6 separate regions of the Homo sapiens genome follow, and regions 2, 3, 4, 5 and 6 are each linked to region 1. The links are contacts of gene promoters, found by promoter capture Hi-C in blood cells and fetal thymus (Javierre and others, 2016). All regions are on one chromosome and are shown on one strand. The core of a region is centred on a gene start or on the middle of the fragment in contact, and the rest is flanking DNA. Distances in the headings are between cores, read along the strand shown.

Evidence for each region. Contacts are between HindIII fragments. The CHiCAGO score rates a contact against its expected background, and 5 or more counts as called.
Region 2: a fragment that was not itself captured here is called in contact with the fragment with the promoter of DOK7 in region 1 in 1 of 17 cell types (endothelial precursors); the score reaches 5.5 in endothelial precursors.
Region 3: a fragment that was not itself captured here is called in contact with the fragment with the promoter of DOK7 in region 1 in 3 of 17 cell types (fetal thymus, non-activated CD4 T cells and naive CD8 T cells); the score reaches 6.6 in fetal thymus.
Region 4: a fragment that was not itself captured here is called in contact with the fragment with the promoter of DOK7 in region 1 in 5 of 17 cell types (total CD4 T cells, naive CD4 T cells, erythroblasts and 2 more); the score reaches 7.1 in total CD4 T cells.
Region 5: a contact is called between a fragment that was not itself captured here and the fragment with the promoter of DOK7 in region 1, in 2 of 17 cell types (endothelial precursors and naive CD8 T cells). The highest score is 6.5, in endothelial precursors.
Region 6: a fragment that was not itself captured here is called in contact with the fragment with the promoter of DOK7 in region 1 in 1 of 17 cell types (endothelial precursors); the score reaches 7.0 in endothelial precursors.

The regions. Positions count from the first base shown.
Region 1 is chr4:3,461,978-3,464,627 of GRCh38, forward strand. DOK7 (docking protein 7) reads left to right here and starts at 1,329. Exons shown (of 7, transcript NM_173660.5): 1 at 1,329-1,452; 2 at 1,529-1,574. The coding sequence starts at 1,399. RefSeq lists an enhancer at 107-954. The HindIII fragment of the contact is 8,339 bases long and covers 1-2,650 here.
Region 2 is chr4:3,089,412-3,092,061 of GRCh38, forward strand. The region is part of intron 2 of HTT (huntingtin); the gene reads left to right. Among named protein-coding and RNA genes, the nearest start is that of HTT, 16 kb to the left of the region's middle. The HindIII fragment of the contact is 2,201 bases long and covers 248-2,448 here.
Region 3 is chr4:3,109,858-3,112,507 of GRCh38, forward strand. The region is part of intron 6 of HTT (huntingtin); the gene reads left to right. Among named protein-coding and RNA genes, the nearest start is that of HTT, 37 kb to the left of the region's middle. The HindIII fragment of the contact is 829 bases long and covers 896-1,724 here.
Region 4 is chr4:3,129,683-3,132,332 of GRCh38, forward strand. HTT (huntingtin) reads left to right here. Exons shown (of 67, transcript NM_001388492.1): 13 at 242-365; 14 at 623-741; 15 at 1,604-1,715; 16 at 1,956-2,093. Among named protein-coding and RNA genes, the nearest start is that of HTT, 56 kb to the left of the region's middle. The HindIII fragment of the contact is 2,912 bases long and covers 1-2,650 here.
Region 5 is chr4:3,156,850-3,159,499 of GRCh38, forward strand. HTT (huntingtin) reads left to right here. Exons shown (of 67, transcript NM_001388492.1): 28 at 223-350. Among named protein-coding and RNA genes, the nearest start is that of HTT, 83 kb to the left of the region's middle. The HindIII fragment of the contact is 2,184 bases long and covers 221-2,404 here.
Region 6 is chr4:3,175,839-3,178,488 of GRCh38, forward strand. HTT (huntingtin) reads left to right here. Exons shown (of 67, transcript NM_001388492.1): 34 at 1,494-1,549; 35 at 2,460-2,608. Among named protein-coding and RNA genes, the nearest start is that of MSANTD1, 72 kb to the right of the region's middle. The HindIII fragment of the contact is 4,405 bases long and covers 1-2,650 here.

The DNA of each region.
Region 1 (2,650 bases), core at 79-2,578:
AAGACATCACCGAAGCACCAAAGCCAACCCTTGTGGCCCACCGGAGACCTGTCTCTTGGATCACAGGGGCAGTGGGGAGGGGCGCCCAGGGCTCCCGATGCCTCTGAGCCCTGCTCTGAGGTCAGCCGATGTGGCTCAGTCCTGGCTGTGAGGCCTCACGCTGCCCTGATTCCATTTGCTCCTCAGTGCGAGGCAGACAGAGCCCAGCCTAGGGTCTGGATGGGATGAAATGAAGACGTCTCCTCCCTAACGGGACACTGTCTACCCCTTCCTTCTTCTCCCCCGAGAACCGTCAGCCCCGTGAGGATGGGGTCTAGGGTAGGGCATGTGGACGGAGCTTTGCTGTTTGTCCAGGTGCTTATCTTCTAGGGTGCCATCGCCCCTCCCCACTGCTGTTCCCGTATCTGCTGGGTGTCCCCAACCCCAGGGTGGTGGAGGCCGTCTCTCGGATGGGGCTGACACCCAAGGCACGGACCTGCCAGGTCCCCCAAAGCACATGGCCTCTCTGCAGAAGAACCTGGATGTGACATCTAATGCCCAGGCCAGAGCTTGGGGACAGCTGGACTGGAGCCACAGGGTCAAGGAGGGGGAGTCCAGAAGCGCAAAGTCCACCCAGCTGGGAGGGCTGCTGGCAGGTCCTTTACAAAGCAGGCAGCTCCTCTGCCCATCGGAGCCGGCTGGCCTAACCAGGGCCTGCTCTTGCCTGGGATGGGGGCAGAAGAGGTGGAGACCTGGGGCCCTGAGGCGGCACTGTGGGTCCTGGACCCGCCCACCTGCACTGGGGTCCCTGCAGGCTTTTAATGGGAACAGAAATGGAGGAAGAGACAGAGGCTGCCAGGGGCTCCCCGACCCCTACTGCCTGCCTGGGGAGGGGTCACCTCAGTGTGGGGGAAGCCTGGGGATGTGAGAGCATCCTAGGCCTGGGCTGCCTGTGGCCAGTCTGTTGTCCGGGTGTCTAGTGACCCCTGGGGTAGGGGCAGATGCCAGTCTGGGAAGCCGGATTGTTTGAAGACCAACTTTAAAGTTGGGAGCAGTGCCCAGAGCGGGGCCGATGTCTGCTAGGTGGTTGTCTCTGCTTTTTGAAAAAGAAGTCCCCGCCCGACCCCCGCCCCGCCAGGCGCTGGTCTGAGCGTCTGAGCCCAGATGGTGCGCTTGCTCCAGAGGGCGGGCGGCTCCAGTGGCCGCCGCGGGACGGTGGGGCCAGAGGGGCCCGTGGGGGTGGGGGAGCCGCCCGCAGGAGAAGGAGCCCCGCCCGCGCCGGCCCTGGAGTCGCCGGTGTCGCCGCCCTGCCCGCGGGCCCGCCCTCCTGGCCCAGCCCAGGGCCCTGCGAGCTATTTTGAAAGTGACCCTGGGCTGGGGCGCCGGGGCGAGCGCGGCGGCGCGGAACCATGACAGAAGATGACCGAGGCGGCGCTGGTGGAGGGCCAGGTCAAGCTGCGGGACGGCAAGAAGGTCGGGGCGCGTCGGGGGCGCGGGGGGGGGGGGCGCGGGCGCGGGCGGCGGCTCACGCTCCCCCCTGTCCCCGCAGTGGAAGAGTAGGTGGCTGGTGCTGCGGAAGCCGTCGCCCGTGGCAGGTGAGCGGGGCGGGCGGGGGACGGGGGGCGCGGGGGTAGCGACACGGGTTACCGAGGCCCGGGGCAGTAATGCCAGCTTGCCCAAAATCGCCGCCGCTGTCACCCCGCCGGGAAACCCGAGAGCCCCGTGCGGACCCGGACCCCCCGGCGCCCCTGGGAGCGCAGGTGGGGGCCCTGGACGGAAGAACCCTCTTTCCAGCAGGGCAGACTGAGGCCCGAGGGGCTGCCTGGTGGCCCTGTAGGCGGAGGGGACGCAGGCCCTGAGCCCCCCAGCAGAGCAGCAAGGGGCCCCCCAGAAGCAAAGCCCCACATACCTGAGGGTTGAGCTGTGCTTGTGGAAACGCTCAGAGCAGGGCCCCCGAACCCAGCCTCCAGGGGTGCTGCGTGGGTTAGCGCTGACCCTGGACCCCTCCCAGGCAGACGAGAGGCTGGGCTGCGGTAGGGCAGGGCAGAGTGACTGCCACATTGCTGGGGGAACAGTCCTCTGGGAGGAGGCAGGGGTCCCCCCCCAGTCCCCGCCCTGAGCCAGCACCCCAGCTTGGGGAGGGTCAGCATGGAGCCCCCAGGTCTGGCAGCCCAGGCCGCCTGCAGCGCTGGGCCTGTAGGGAGGGCTGAGCCGGGCCTGCAGCTGCTCCAGAGGACAGGTGCGGCAGAGCCGGCCAGGCCCGGGTCTGGGTGGGATGCTCGGCCTGTGTGCATGGGGGGCTGTACGCCAGGGGGCTGCCAGAGCACCCTCCAGGACGGGTGTCTGTGACTCCCAGGGAGGGTGTGGGGCAGGGATCCCTCCTGCGTCCCCTCTGCAGGGCCTCAGGTGGTCCTGGAGGAAAGCACTTCCTGCCTGCCTCCGCCTCCCCTTGCAGGGCCTGGACTGCACGCTGGTCACTTCTCCACTCAGCCCTCCGTGCCCAGACCTCCTGCCTGGAGCTGTGGGGGCACCGACAGAGCCTGGGAGGGCGTCTTTGTCCTCCGGGGCTGCAGGGGACCTGGTATAGGAAGGGATGGGGTCTGGGCAGAGTGAGAGGCCCTGCCAGGCTGGGGCGGATGACAGGCTTTAGTCAGCTGTGGCTGGGTCGGGG
Region 2 (2,650 bases), core at 98-2,597, 370 kb before region 1:
CCTGGCTAAATTTTTGTATTTTTAGTAGAGATGGGGTTTCACCGTGTTAGCCAGGATGGTCTTGATCTCCTGACCTCGTGATCCGCCCGCCTCGGCCTCCCAAAGTGCTGGGATTACAGGCGTGAGCCACTGCCCCTGGCCATCTTTACTTTTTTTGTGAAATGACTTTAAATACTTGGCAAACATTTGGTCATTGTTCATCTGATCTCCACCATCCAGGTCTCAGAGAACATAATTTCTCTCTGAAAGCTTATTGACCCAGGAAATAAGATCTCTTTCAATCTGAGTGCGTCAGGCTTTATTCTTGTCATTTTGTCTTTTGATAATTTTCAAATGGAATTCATGGAATGTTGGCTTATATTCATATATTAGTAAAGTATGTTGAGACATCTTAAGATTGATTTGTGGTTCTATATGCCATATTAAATCAAAATAATAGCTGTTAATGGTTTTCACATTAGTCTGTCTCTTGTTTTTATGGAGTAATGCTGAGAGTTCATTATGCTTGTTCTACAGAAGAGCATGTTAAAAGGAGTTTTTGGAGTCAGAGAGGTTATTCTTGGTTTCATAGGATACACTCTATACTTTTTAGGGATTTCAGAGTATATAGCTGAAGGTGATATTTTATGTAAATATGTTTTATGGAAACTTATTGCTCATCGCTGTTTCCTGTTAACTCTCCTAAAATATAATTAAACTTTTGGAACTTTTTTATAGCTTTTGTGCTAGACTAATTTTTGTCTCTAATGAGGTTATATAAATGGCAGCTTCTGACGTTTTCAATGTAGGAAGTCATTTAAAACTTCATGTATATTGTGAAAATGTAGTCTGCTTTAAGCTCTCTAAAGTGGTCTAAGTTACTGGTTCCTAAGTATGGATGAGCATCAAAATCATCTGGAAAATTTGTTAAAAATACAGTAATGAAGGCACCTCACTGTCCTTTTTCCCAAACATACTTCTGCATTCTGTTTGAGTAGGTAGGGACTACACATTTTTCACAAGTATCCTCTTGGGAATACCCAGGAATGCTTACTTGAGCAACCTCTTACTAATATGTACCTTGATAAGGTGGCTAGGTAAACATAAATATACAAAAATCCATAGATCTCCCATATATTAGCATAAATCAGCTAGAAAATATAACGTTTAAAGATCTAGTTCACAGTAGCACCAATATATCGAACTCTAAGGAATCGATAAATATGCAAAAACTTTATAAAAACTTCTGTTAATGTTTCTGAAAGATATAGGTGACCACTTTCTAGATAGGAAGATTTTATATTACTAAGTTGAATTTTCTCTAAATTAACACAGAAATTTAAAATAATCTTGATCAAAATTCTAGTAGAGGTATTTTTGAACTTGTTCACTGCAAGAATAAATACATAATTGCAAAGAATATCTCAAAATCATCACCAGGCCTGGTGTGGTGGCCCATGCCTGTAATCCCAGCACTTTGGGAGGCTGAGGCAGGCAGATCACCTGAGGTCAAGAGTTTGAGACCAGCTGGACCAGTGCGGTGAAACACTGCCTCTACTAAAAATACAAAAATTAGCTGGGTGTGGTGGTGCATGCCTGTAGTCCCAGCTACTTGGGAGGCTGAGGCAGGAGAATTGCTTGAACCCAGGAGGTACAGGTTGCGGTGAGCCTAGATCGCACCACTGCATTCCAGCCTGGGCGACAAGAGCAAAATTCTGTCTCAAGAAAAAAGAGAAAAAAGAAAAAGAAATCAACACTAATATGGTGAGACTTAATGTATGTGACATTAAAATAGTGATTGGATGTTAAAACAGGTATAGAACAGAAAGAAGAGTGTATGTGTGTATCTGTATGAATTTATGATGGGTGTAACATATATGTATTAGGGAAATGAGGGAAATGATACATTTCTCTGACTTTGGGAGAACATTATATCTCTACCTCATATTGCAAACAAACATAAAGTTCAGATTAATTACCTAAATGTGAAAAAATGAAATAATTTCTTTAAAAAATGTAATCTTAGTTTGAGGAAGGTTAACATTATAAAGGAAAAAACTGTTTTGAGTGGAATATAGTTCAATATGTCAAAATCCACCTTCAACAAAATTGAAAGTAAATTGAACTTGGGGAAAGTATTGACAGCATATAGATCAAAGGTTACTAGCCTGTGTAAAGAGCAGTTATAAATATCGTTAAGAAAAACACTGTCGACCTGTCGGCACCTTGTTCTCCGACTCCCAGCCTCCAGAACTGTGACGAGTAAGTGCTTATTGTTTAAACCACCCAGTCTGTATGTGGTATTTTGTTATAGAAACTCAAGCTGATTAGGACACTAGTAATCAGTAGACTGAAACTGAAACAAAAATAAGAACCTTTTTTACCTGTCAAATTGGCAAACATTAAGAATATTCAGATTTTTGTCAGAGGTGATACAACCTTCTAAGAAGGCAATTTGGGAAAATATAAAGCTTTAGATTATTATATGTCTGACCTAGCAGTTTTACCTCTAGGGTGCTTACCCCTAGGAAAGTGTGTAATGATATTGGTGCAGTGCCCTTCATCCCATTAGAAAATTAAAAATAACCTTAATGGCCTACCACTAAAAGGGGATTGAAAATTTAAGATATATTTATTTATGTGTTTATTGAGATGGAGTCTTGCACTGTCC
Region 3 (2,650 bases), core at 60-2,559, 350 kb before region 1:
GTTCTAGGTGACCCAGTGCTGGGGACGGGGGGGCCACCTGCAAGGTCTAATCATGGAGGTGGGGGCTACAGTGTTGGCTTGTGCTGGGGCCAGCATCCTTAGGAAGGCATCTTGGAGGTGGAGGAGACAGCCGCCCACTTCTTGATTGGGGCCTTCAGCAGCACCAGCTTCTTGGGCAGGCTGGTGCTGGCTTTCATCACCATGTCGTGTTCAATCTTCTTCCAGATCCTGACTTCTAGGTTCAGCTTTCCTCAGACCCTGGTTCCTTTCAGAGGCCATTGCTGCTGCCTTGCTCTTTGCTGGCTTGTGCCTTGATTATATGTCTTTGTACAACTTTTTGTTTTCCTGGAGTTAATCTTCACATCTGTTTTCTTGGAGTTAATCGTTACCTCTATATCGCTTGCTTATTATTCTTTGGCCTTTTTGTCTTCTCACACCTTCCAACTTCTTTGTAATATGTGTTTAGTACAATTTTTCATGACAGGTAGTTTACTGAATCAGTTTTTCCCCAGTGTGGTCATCCAACTTGAGTTATCCAGCTCTCTGCCCCAGTCTGGGCAGGTTGATCTTCAGGTCTGTAGTACACTTGTATCCTAGGACTTCTCTTTGCCATTAGCCTGGAATTTCCTTTGCAGTTCTCCCGTTGGATGCCCAGTTCCTAGATGCCATATGTTTTTCTATCGTCTAGTAGCTTCCTGAGAGAAGATGAATGGGAGGGAAATTGTATGAGGTTTTGCATTCATAAAAATGCCATTTTTTTTCCTGTACACTTGGCTGGGTATGGTGTTCTGGGGTAGAAATCATTTTCCCTCAGAAATGCAAAGTCTTTGCCCTGTTGTCTTAAAATCTCCAACGTGACCCGATTCCTTAACCTATGAATGTACTTTTCTTTGGAAGCTTTCCATTTTTGGGGAGGTGAAGTGCTAGGTACTTAGTAGGCCTTTTAATTTGGAAACTTACATCCCTTCAGTTCTGGGAAAATTTTCTTAACATTTCTCTGAGAAGTTCTTGCCTTTTATTTTCTGTGTTCTCTCCTGAAATTGGTTAGTTGGATGTTGGTCCTCCTAGATTGACTCACATCTTACCTTTTTCTTTTCTTTTTCTGGTACTTTTTAGATATCCATCTCAAACTCTTCTATTCATTGTTATGTTTTTAACTTCTTTCTTTTCTTTGTCTCTTGATGGGGTCTTGCCCTGTTGCCCAGGTTGTGGTGCAGTGGTGCGATCATAGCTCACTGCAGCCTCAAATTCCTGGGCTCAAGCAGCTGTTCTGCCTCACCCTCCCAAGTAGTTGGGACTACAGGTATGCACCACCACGTCCAGCTATTTTCTTTACTTTTTTTTTTTTTTTTTTGAGATGGAGTCCTACTCTGTCGCCCAGGCTAGAGTGCGGTGGTGGGATTTTGGCTCACTTAAGCCTCTGCCTCCCAGGTTCAAGCAGTTCTCCTGCCTCAGCCTCTCAAGTAGCTGGGATTACAGGTGTGCACCACCATGCCCGGCTAATTTTTGTATTTTTAGTAGAGCCAGAGTTTCACCATGTTGGCCAGGCTGGTCTCGAACGCCTGACCTCAGGTGATCCGCCTGCCTTGGCCTCCGAAAGTGCCGGGATTACAGGCGTGAGCCCATCATTAGATCTTTAAATACCAGTATCTATAAGTCTTTTCCTCTTGAGTCAGCTAGTATCCCTGGAAGGAAATTACTCATTTTCCTGCTTGGAGGCTATAAGCTTGGCTATGTTTATCCTGCAACCGGGGACTGGAAGGGAGGGGACTGACAGTGTTGCTGGTCAGGGTGCCCTCTTACTTTTTGTTTTCTGTGTGCATCTCACGTCTGTCCTCAGCCTATGTAAACACCTCTTGAGATTATCCCTCTCAATCTTTGCCGGAGGTGGGGGAGGGGCTGCTTCCTGGGCTGCCTTGGATTGGAGGGAAGACCTCAGGTGAGTGGGTGGGAATTTGCCCAAGGAGCCATGAGACCAGCCACTATTTCACCCTCTCCATCCCTCCACTTTCAGATGTATGTGGCGCCTCCAAAGCCCGAGCTCTTCTTGGCGTCTGTGGCTTCAATAAGCTTGCTTTTTGCTGGTATCCCTCCTACCCTCCCCTGTCCCCAGCAAAGCTTGCATTTGAACTTCTTCCTACGGGCTAACAAATCAGTCAGTTATGTAGCTCTTGTTACTTTTTAGCTTCCGAAGTTTTGTTGACACCCGTAGTCTGCTAATGTCCCTGTTCTGTTCTTTCTGTTCGTGTAAATATATGCTTTATACAACTTCTTTACATGATTTTTGTGGGGTTTCTGGGTAGCAGAGCTTCACAAGTTCAATCCAGCGTGTTGGATTAGAAATCTCCCACCCTCTGGTTTATTCTTATTCTCAAAATTACCTGCCAAACACTGATACTCCCTTGTTTTTCCTTTTCCTGACAGGAAATGTACATACCATACAGGACAGAAATCATTAGTGTATCCCTTGGTGAATAACCACAAAGTGAACTTAACCCTTGTAACCGCCACCCAGGTCAAGACAGAATATTACCAAGCACTCAGAAGCCTCTCCCCTATTCCCCCGTCACTGCTCCTGCCTTCCTCCCCAAGGTCATGACTGCTGGCTTCTAATTCCAGAGTCTGTTTTTAAATTCTGTGTACATAGACC
Region 4 (2,650 bases), core at 105-2,604, 330 kb before region 1:
TGGAATTTTTTTGGAGTTTTTAGAGCTAATAGAGCTTTTCATAATGTAGTGGGAATGAGTGATCAGTAAGCTCTTAGCAGTTTCCATGCGTGCATTTCTGTGCCTTGAAATAAATGACAGATGAGTACATTTGTGTTCTGTGTGTAAAATGTGCTCTTTCCTCATTGCACTTCCATGTTGGAGGGCTTGTCTCTTGGTGATCACACTTCAAAATTCTCACAGCCCCCCTTGAACCGTTTAGGTGTTAGACGGTACCGACAACCAGTATTTGGGCCTGCAGATTGGACAGCCCCAGGATGAAGATGAGGAAGCCACAGGTATTCTTCCTGATGAAGCCTCGGAGGCCTTCAGGAACTCTTCCATGGGTATGTGGACTACAGGTGATGCGCTACAAAGTGGTTTGTATTCAGACCTGGACATCTTAATTATATCTTTGCTTCCAAGAAGAAGTCCTTTGATACTGTTTTCTGAGTTCTGAATAGCTGATGAAAATGACCAATTGAGGAATAATCATACTTTTTCTTGATCTAAATCTTATACTTTTGAGTTATCTTAGCATAAATGTATAATTGTATTTTAAGTGGAAATTTGTCACTTAATCTTGATTTCTCTGTTTTTAAAGCCCTTCAACAGGCACATTTATTGAAAAACATGAGTCACTGCAGGCAGCCTTCTGACAGCAGTGTTGATAAATTTGTGTTGAGAGATGAAGCTACTGAACCGGGTGATCAAGAAAACAAGGTGAGGGACATAGGCTTGAGACGACTTGGTGTTTCTGAGCTTGTGTGAGGATTTAAAATCGCCCTGGCTACTGTCTACTTTATTGCTTTCCCATCCCTGGGCCTTTAAATTTCCCCTTTAAATACCAGCTCTTCCCAGGCCTGTTGTTTTCTGCCTTTCCAGGTACTACCCACAGCCTTGAGAATTGCCTGAGTTCTGCCTCCTTTGAGAGTGTGCCCCAGACAAATCTATTCTGTACTGAATGTTTCCTTGTCTGATTTCTTGGATCATTCATTTGATGGTTGCGTATGGCCTGCAACGTTTCTTGTTTTGGTTCTACTGAACTGTTCTAAAAGTCTCTCTTCATATTATCTTTTTACATGTAAATGTAACTGTCTTCACTTTTAATTCCTCAAGGACAAGGAATAGCGTTTCACAGTTCGTCCCATCAATCAGAATTATAGCCTTTGGCATCTCCCTATCTACCAGGCCCACTTCCTCTTAGATTTGGGCTTCCCCAGGCTGTTGCCTTTCCCCAAGTAGCTTCTGCTTGTCCTGTAGAAGACCTTTCATGCTTTGCTTCTGCAGCAGCCGTTCCTGAATGCCTAGTGTCAACTGCCTTCTTACCACGCCCACCCTCCCTGCATGCTGCATTTATCCCCTGCCACAGCCCTGTGACCCTGTGTCCTGCTGCCTCTGACTTGTCTGTTTCTGCTTGGCCATGGTCTCTGTGAGGTCAGGTGTGCATATGGGCACAAACCAGGGCATCTCTTTATCCCCAGCACCTGGCTTAAGTGCTGCTCTGGAACTATCTGTTGAATGAACTAATGCATGAATGTATTGTTGAGTATGAGACAAACAAGTGTCATTGTCTCCTTTCTAGCCTTGCCGCATCAAAGGTGACATTGGACAGTCCACTGATGATGACTCTGCACCTCTTGTCCATTGTGTCCGCCTTTTATCTGCTTCGTTTTTGCTAACAGGGGGAAAAAATGGTGAGTACAAAAGGGGATGTGCACAGTTGAAGGAAATAACTAGGTTTCAGAGGTCAGCTTGGTGGCCTGTTTTTGCCTTGCGTGCAGCAGAGGAAGTAGAATCTGAGGATGAGTTTGGTTTTCACTAGCCGAGGGGAGGGAGGAAATGATGGGAGCAGGTAGGTTATTGGGTCTGGTTTTGTTCATTTGAAAACAATCTGTTGTTTGAGGCTGAAGGTGGCTTGGGTGATTTCTTGGCAGTGCTGGTTCCGGACAGGGATGTGAGGGTCAGCGTGAAGGCCCTGGCCCTCAGCTGTGTGGGAGCAGCTGTGGCCCTCCACCCGGAATCTTTCTTCAGCAAACTCTATAAAGTTCCTCTTGACACCACGGAATACCCTGGTATGTTAAAAGTTCACATCTTATTTTCTCAGATTTAATCATTATTGTAAAAACTATTTCAGTATTGACTATTTTAGTTTTAGAGCAGTAAGTGTTTTGAGTTCATTTGGGATATTTGACCTGCGTTGTAGCTCTTCAGAAAACACATGAATAGTGAAGTTCTTTGTTTCATGGGTTCCCTTTAGATGAAACCCATAGAGGAGAAAAGTAGAAACCTCAGCACGTAAGAGCCAACATATATACACATCGGATTTAAACCTAAAGCACAAATTGTGCCTGGTCGCAGTGGCGCTGAGTCGCACTCAGCCAGGCCAGGCATTCACACTCAGGGTGAGTGGGAACCAGGACTGGCTGAGGCAGCAGTGGACCCAAGTCTCCATCGCGCCCATGCTTACTATGGAGCCTTCTCGTTCTCTCTTTTTCTTTGGGTGAGAGGGTACACTTGTGTTTTTGAATTTATATGAGGTAAGTGTGTAATAGGGTTTTTTCTAATCTTTTTTAAGTGGAATCTGGAATTTTAATCAGATTTATTATCTGACAACCTAGAATTATAATCC
Region 5 (2,650 bases), core at 63-2,562, 310 kb before region 1:
TGCACACTGCTCTTCTTATTTTGTTATTTAAAAAGTACTTAGGCTCTACTTATGTTTGTTAGTCAATTTCTCATTACTTCTAGTTAATCAAAAGGTCAGAGGAAATACTTGAATATTTTCATACTAGAATACTTTAAAAAATCATGATTTCCAGTAATCTCTTTAAAACTTGGCAAGTTATTTTGATCTAAAAGTTTATCTTTTGTGTGCATATTTTTAAAGCTTCTAGACAATCTGATACCTCAGGTCCTGTTACAACAAGTAAATCCTCATCACTGGGGAGTTTCTATCATCTTCCTTCATACCTCAAACTGCATGATGTCCTGAAAGCTACACACGCTAACTACAAGGTATGGGCCTCTGCATCTTTTAAAAATATATATGCACACATACTTACGTCTAATGGATAGTTGATGTTTTTCTTATGATTTGTAGGATGTATAAGCCCTTTGAGATATGAGTTACATTTAGTTTTTTCAAGTTTGTTTGTCTTTCAGCTTTGTTTATGATAGCTTCTATCATACAGGTGTTTTGGATTTTCATATTGTTTGTACTCACAGCTAAGATTGATTACAGTGACAGAGCTAGGATGTGCAGCCAGGTTATAGGGGGAAGTGGCCCTGGTGGAGTCTGGAGGGATCCGTGTACAGGCTTCCTTCCCTCCCGTGAGGCTCACACAAAAATACAGCAACATGCTGGTCCTGCAGGTACCCTCTGCCTAACATGAGCCACAATTCCAGACTCACAGAAGAAAAGCAGGTGTTCGGCATAAACCATGTGTTTCAAATAGTCTGGGCATGGTGAGCCACTTGTTATCAGCTAGGGAAAGTTTATGTCAGCGTAAGAAACTGTTCACCAGATACCCCCAAGAGCCAGCCTTTCTGTCTAGGGATGTTTTAGTTTTTTAGTTCATTTTTTTTTTTAACTTTAAAATTTTCTGTTCATCTGCAATTTGTTAGATATGAAGTATGTGTCTAATTTAATTTTTGTTTTTGGTTGTCCCCAATAATGTTTACAGAAGAATTTTTCTGCACTAATTGGCTTGAGTTACTTACATTCTCATAGTTCTCTAGTTTCAGTAGTTTCATTTATTATTTTGTTATATCAATCTATCTGTCTGCTCATCTATTAGAAGCATCCTTGTTTTTTTTTTTTCTTTTTTAGACAGAGTCTTGCTCTGTCCCCAGGTTGGAGTGCAGTGGTGCAACCATGCCTCCCTGCAGTCTCAGGGCTCAAGTGATCCTCCCACCTCAGCTCCTGAGTACCTGGGACTACCGGCATGTGCCACCACACCCAGCTAATTTTTACATTTTTTGTAGAGACAGGGTCTCCCTAAGTTGCCTGGGCTGGTCTCAAGCTCCTGGCTTAAGTAATCCTCCCTCCTTGGCCTCCCAAAGTGCTGGGATTACAGGTGTGAGCAACTGCACCCGGCTACAAGTATACTTCTTAATTATTGTAGCTTAATGGTATTTATGAGGGGATCAGTTCCCCTGTTGTTCTTTAGAATTTTCTGGATATTCTTCTTTATTGATTTTGGGATGTGAACAATAGAATCAACTTCTACTTGTAGATTGATTTAGGGAGAACTTATACCTCAGATGTTAAGTCACCCTGTCCAGAATGTGGGATGCTTTCCTATTTGTTCAGAACTTTTTAAATTACCTCAGAAGCACATGAAATTTAAAGGATTTTAAAAAAAACTTAAAGATTATTTCACATAGCTCTTGCACATTTCTTGATAAATGAATCCTCAGGTATTCCTCTGTTTTTGTTACTAATAGTTACTTCTTATGGGTTTTTTTTCCCCTGAAAATCATTTATCAAACGTATGTGGCTTATTTTCTGAAGGATGTTTGATAATTTTGGAAGATATGAAAGTCTTCATATTTTACAAGGTTTGAGGTCTCTTTAAGCTGCATGGTTCTCATGTCAGCTCCCAAAGCAGAAGACGGCATGTTGAAAAATGCCGTAGAGAAGATACTTCTTTTCCACCTGTTTTCAACTCATATCATCTTGAATTTCAGGGCACCTTTCCATGCTCCTAGTGCTTGCTATCTGTTTATTATTTTCCTTCCTGAATACCCTGAACTCCAGCATGTTCTGCTGTAATTCTGGCCTCCCTGGCATCTTGGACTCCTGTTTCCTTTGCTCTGTCATCCCCGCGGTCAGCTCCTGCTGCGCAGCTTCTCAGCTGAAGTGCGTTTGGAGTGCCTGGCGTGTCTTGCTGGATCTTTGAGTATTGCCTCTGGTTTCCTTGGTTCCTTCTGCTGAGTTGCTCAGCGTCTCCACTCCCCATTTCTTGTGTGGCCCTTCCTGCACTCCTCTGATTCCTTTTGTCTTCCCTGGTTTCTTGCTTTGGTTTCGAGTCTCCACAGAACTTTTGCAGCTCTTCTGAAGACCTGGAAGCTTTTTCATCTTAATTCTCATCTCATGACCTCTTTTCCCTTCTTTGAGAGCTAGAACTTCCCATGGTGAACTTCTCTTTCCAGAATTCCATGCCTTCTTTTCCCTCCCACTTACCTGTTGTCCAGGAGAGGTCAGATTGCTGTGCATATTGGAGGAGAACCCTTTCTTCCCTGGGCTCTTCATCTCACATGACATCACCACATCACCTCGTTCCTTGGACCCTCAGTGGTGTCACTGCTGGATT
Region 6 (2,650 bases), core at 107-2,606, 290 kb before region 1:
ATTTGTGAGTTAGAAATATTACACTTCTCTATTTCCTTCTAGACGTAAATCTGTTAATCCTGTCAGCACTGTTACTCACCTGAAAGGGTCTGTTTCCCTAGGAGAACTGAGGGCACTCGGTCAACACTGATTTTCCACAGTGGGTATTGGGGTGGTATCTGCTTGTTTTTTTTGTTGTTGTTGTTTGTTTTTTTTTGTTTTTTTTTTGAGATGGAGTCTCGCTCTGTCACCCAGGCTGGAGTGCAGGGGTGCGATCTCGGCTCACTGCCAGCTCCGCCTCAGAGGTTCACGCCATTCTCCTGCCTCAGCCTCCCGAGTAGCTGGGACTACAGGCACCCACCACTACGCCAGGCTAATTTTTTGTATTTTTAGTAGAGACGAGGTTTCACTGTGTTAGCCAGGATGGTCTCCATCTCCTGACCTCGTGATCTGCCCGCCTCGGCCTCCCAAAGTGCTGGGATGACAGGCGTGAGCCACCGCGCCCGGCCTGGGGTCTGCTTTTAATGAAGGAGGCATCAAGGGGTGGGCTTTGCGTTGGCCTGATGCTTTCATCTTTCTTTCACAAAACCTGTCCGAAGAAAATCCGTCTAAATGGGCCATTGCTCTCCTCAGGAAATAGTCATTGGGAACTTCTTTTCCTTTCCTTTGACACTAGGAGGCTGACTGGGGAGAAGCCCTGGTCTATGGCTGTGGGCAGCAGGGGCTGAGAGGAGCAGGCTCTCAGGGGGGCACGGGTACCCCAAGGGAAGCCAGAGCCCTGATTTGTTCCATTCTAGTAAGAACAAAGACTGCTCTGGTTTCATGTTTGTTCTGATTGCCTTTCATCAACCGGTCCCCTTTCTCCCAGTTCTTAAGATTCAGTACAGTGACAGTTTTATGAACAAGAATAGAACACTAGAACAGACAAACCATTGAACTCTATGCTGATAAAGATTTATTGAGCTCCTGCTGTATGTTTGCATTCTGCCCAGAGGCTCTGAGAAAACCAGGCCATATGCTCCATGCTTTATCCATGGAAGCTCCCCGTCAGGTTGGGAAAGCTGACAGCTGCAGGGAATACAGTGTGACACAAAACTGGCTCCCATGCAGCCCTTACGTGTCGCCTCTCAGATGGTTGGGGGACGAAGGTCGACTCCTTTGGGTATCTTATTACTAAACCAGTTTCAGGGAATCTGTGCCACCCTATCTGCCATTAACGTGAACAGATGAGTCCCCAAGGTGTAATTTTGGGTATTGTCTGATGTCTCTTGGAATTTATTATTTGTTTTTCCAATGAGATTTCACCTCAGGGTATAGTAAAGTTGTTGAGGGGATTCCTGGATGTGTTCTGCAATTATCTAGGCTGATTTCAGAATAGAGTTATGCTTATAGTCAAATTTATCAGCTGTCAAGAATTTTATTTAAAATTTATGCAGATAAGCAGGAGGAAAAGAAGCCTGGTTTTTACATTTTAATCCTATTATTGATGTGAAATTTTATTTTCCTTCCTGTAGGTGTTTATTGGCTTTGTATTGAAACAGTTTGAATACATTGAAGTGGGCCAGTTCAGGTAATAGCATTTTATTATTTTAGATTTTTTTCTTCTTCTTGTGTACTTACATGTAATTTAGGTTATTAAGTGAATGTTTAAACTACTGTTAGGCATTTTTGCTGTTTTCTTTAAATGGAAATCTGACTAACATACTGTGCATTTTTGCTTCTCTTAAAAATTAATGTATATCTCAAGACTTGTTTGGAAGTAGTTATGTATCTGAAAATTCCATATGTTGTCAGTATTCATTGCACATTTCAAAGCATTTAATTGTGTTGACAGATGGTGGAATGAAATCTTGTGGTGGAGCACTAGTTTTTAAATCTTCTTAGAGAAAGCAGTTTTATATAATGTTGTCTTTAGTAATTATTATGCATTTGTATTCTCTGCAGCTTTTTCTTGCTAGATGTTGAGGTTTTAATACTTCTTGCTAGTCCATTACAGGTTTATAATTATTAAAAGTTAAAATTCTTTTAGTACCTAAAATGCTTAATAAACATTGTAATTAGGAAAATTTAGTGCAGAAGGAAAGTGTTCCCAGATTCCCTGGGGTCTGGAAACATAGTGTTTATTCTAATTACATGACACCTCCACTGTGTTTTGGGGCAAGTTACTGTTTCTCTTTTGAGTTTCAATTTCTTCAAGAGCAAAGAGGCAGAGGAGAGCTAGGAAGATCGTAGCTGCTGTGCCCCTGTGCCGTCGGGTGCCTTCTACCTGCTGCCTCCGAACCTTTACACATGTCCCTGCTCTGCGCGAGGGCACAGATGGGATGCACTGTGGCAGGGGTGGGGTTAGAGTAGATCACGGACACCTGTTAGCTTGATGTGTGCTTGCTGTCAAGGTTGAATCATGAATTATTTTATGTTGCTTATATTGATATGTATCTTAATTTTAAAAGAAAGGTCTAAATGGATGTTTTTGTTTTTAGGGAATCAGAGGCAATCATTCCAAACATCTTTTTCTTCTTGGTATTACTATCTTATGAACGCTATCATTCAAAACAGATCATTGGAATTCCTAAAATCATTCAGCTCTGTGATGGCATCATGGCCAGTGGAAGGAAGGCTGTGACACATGGTAACGGGACACACCTTTCACTGTCGTCTTCGGTGTCGTGAT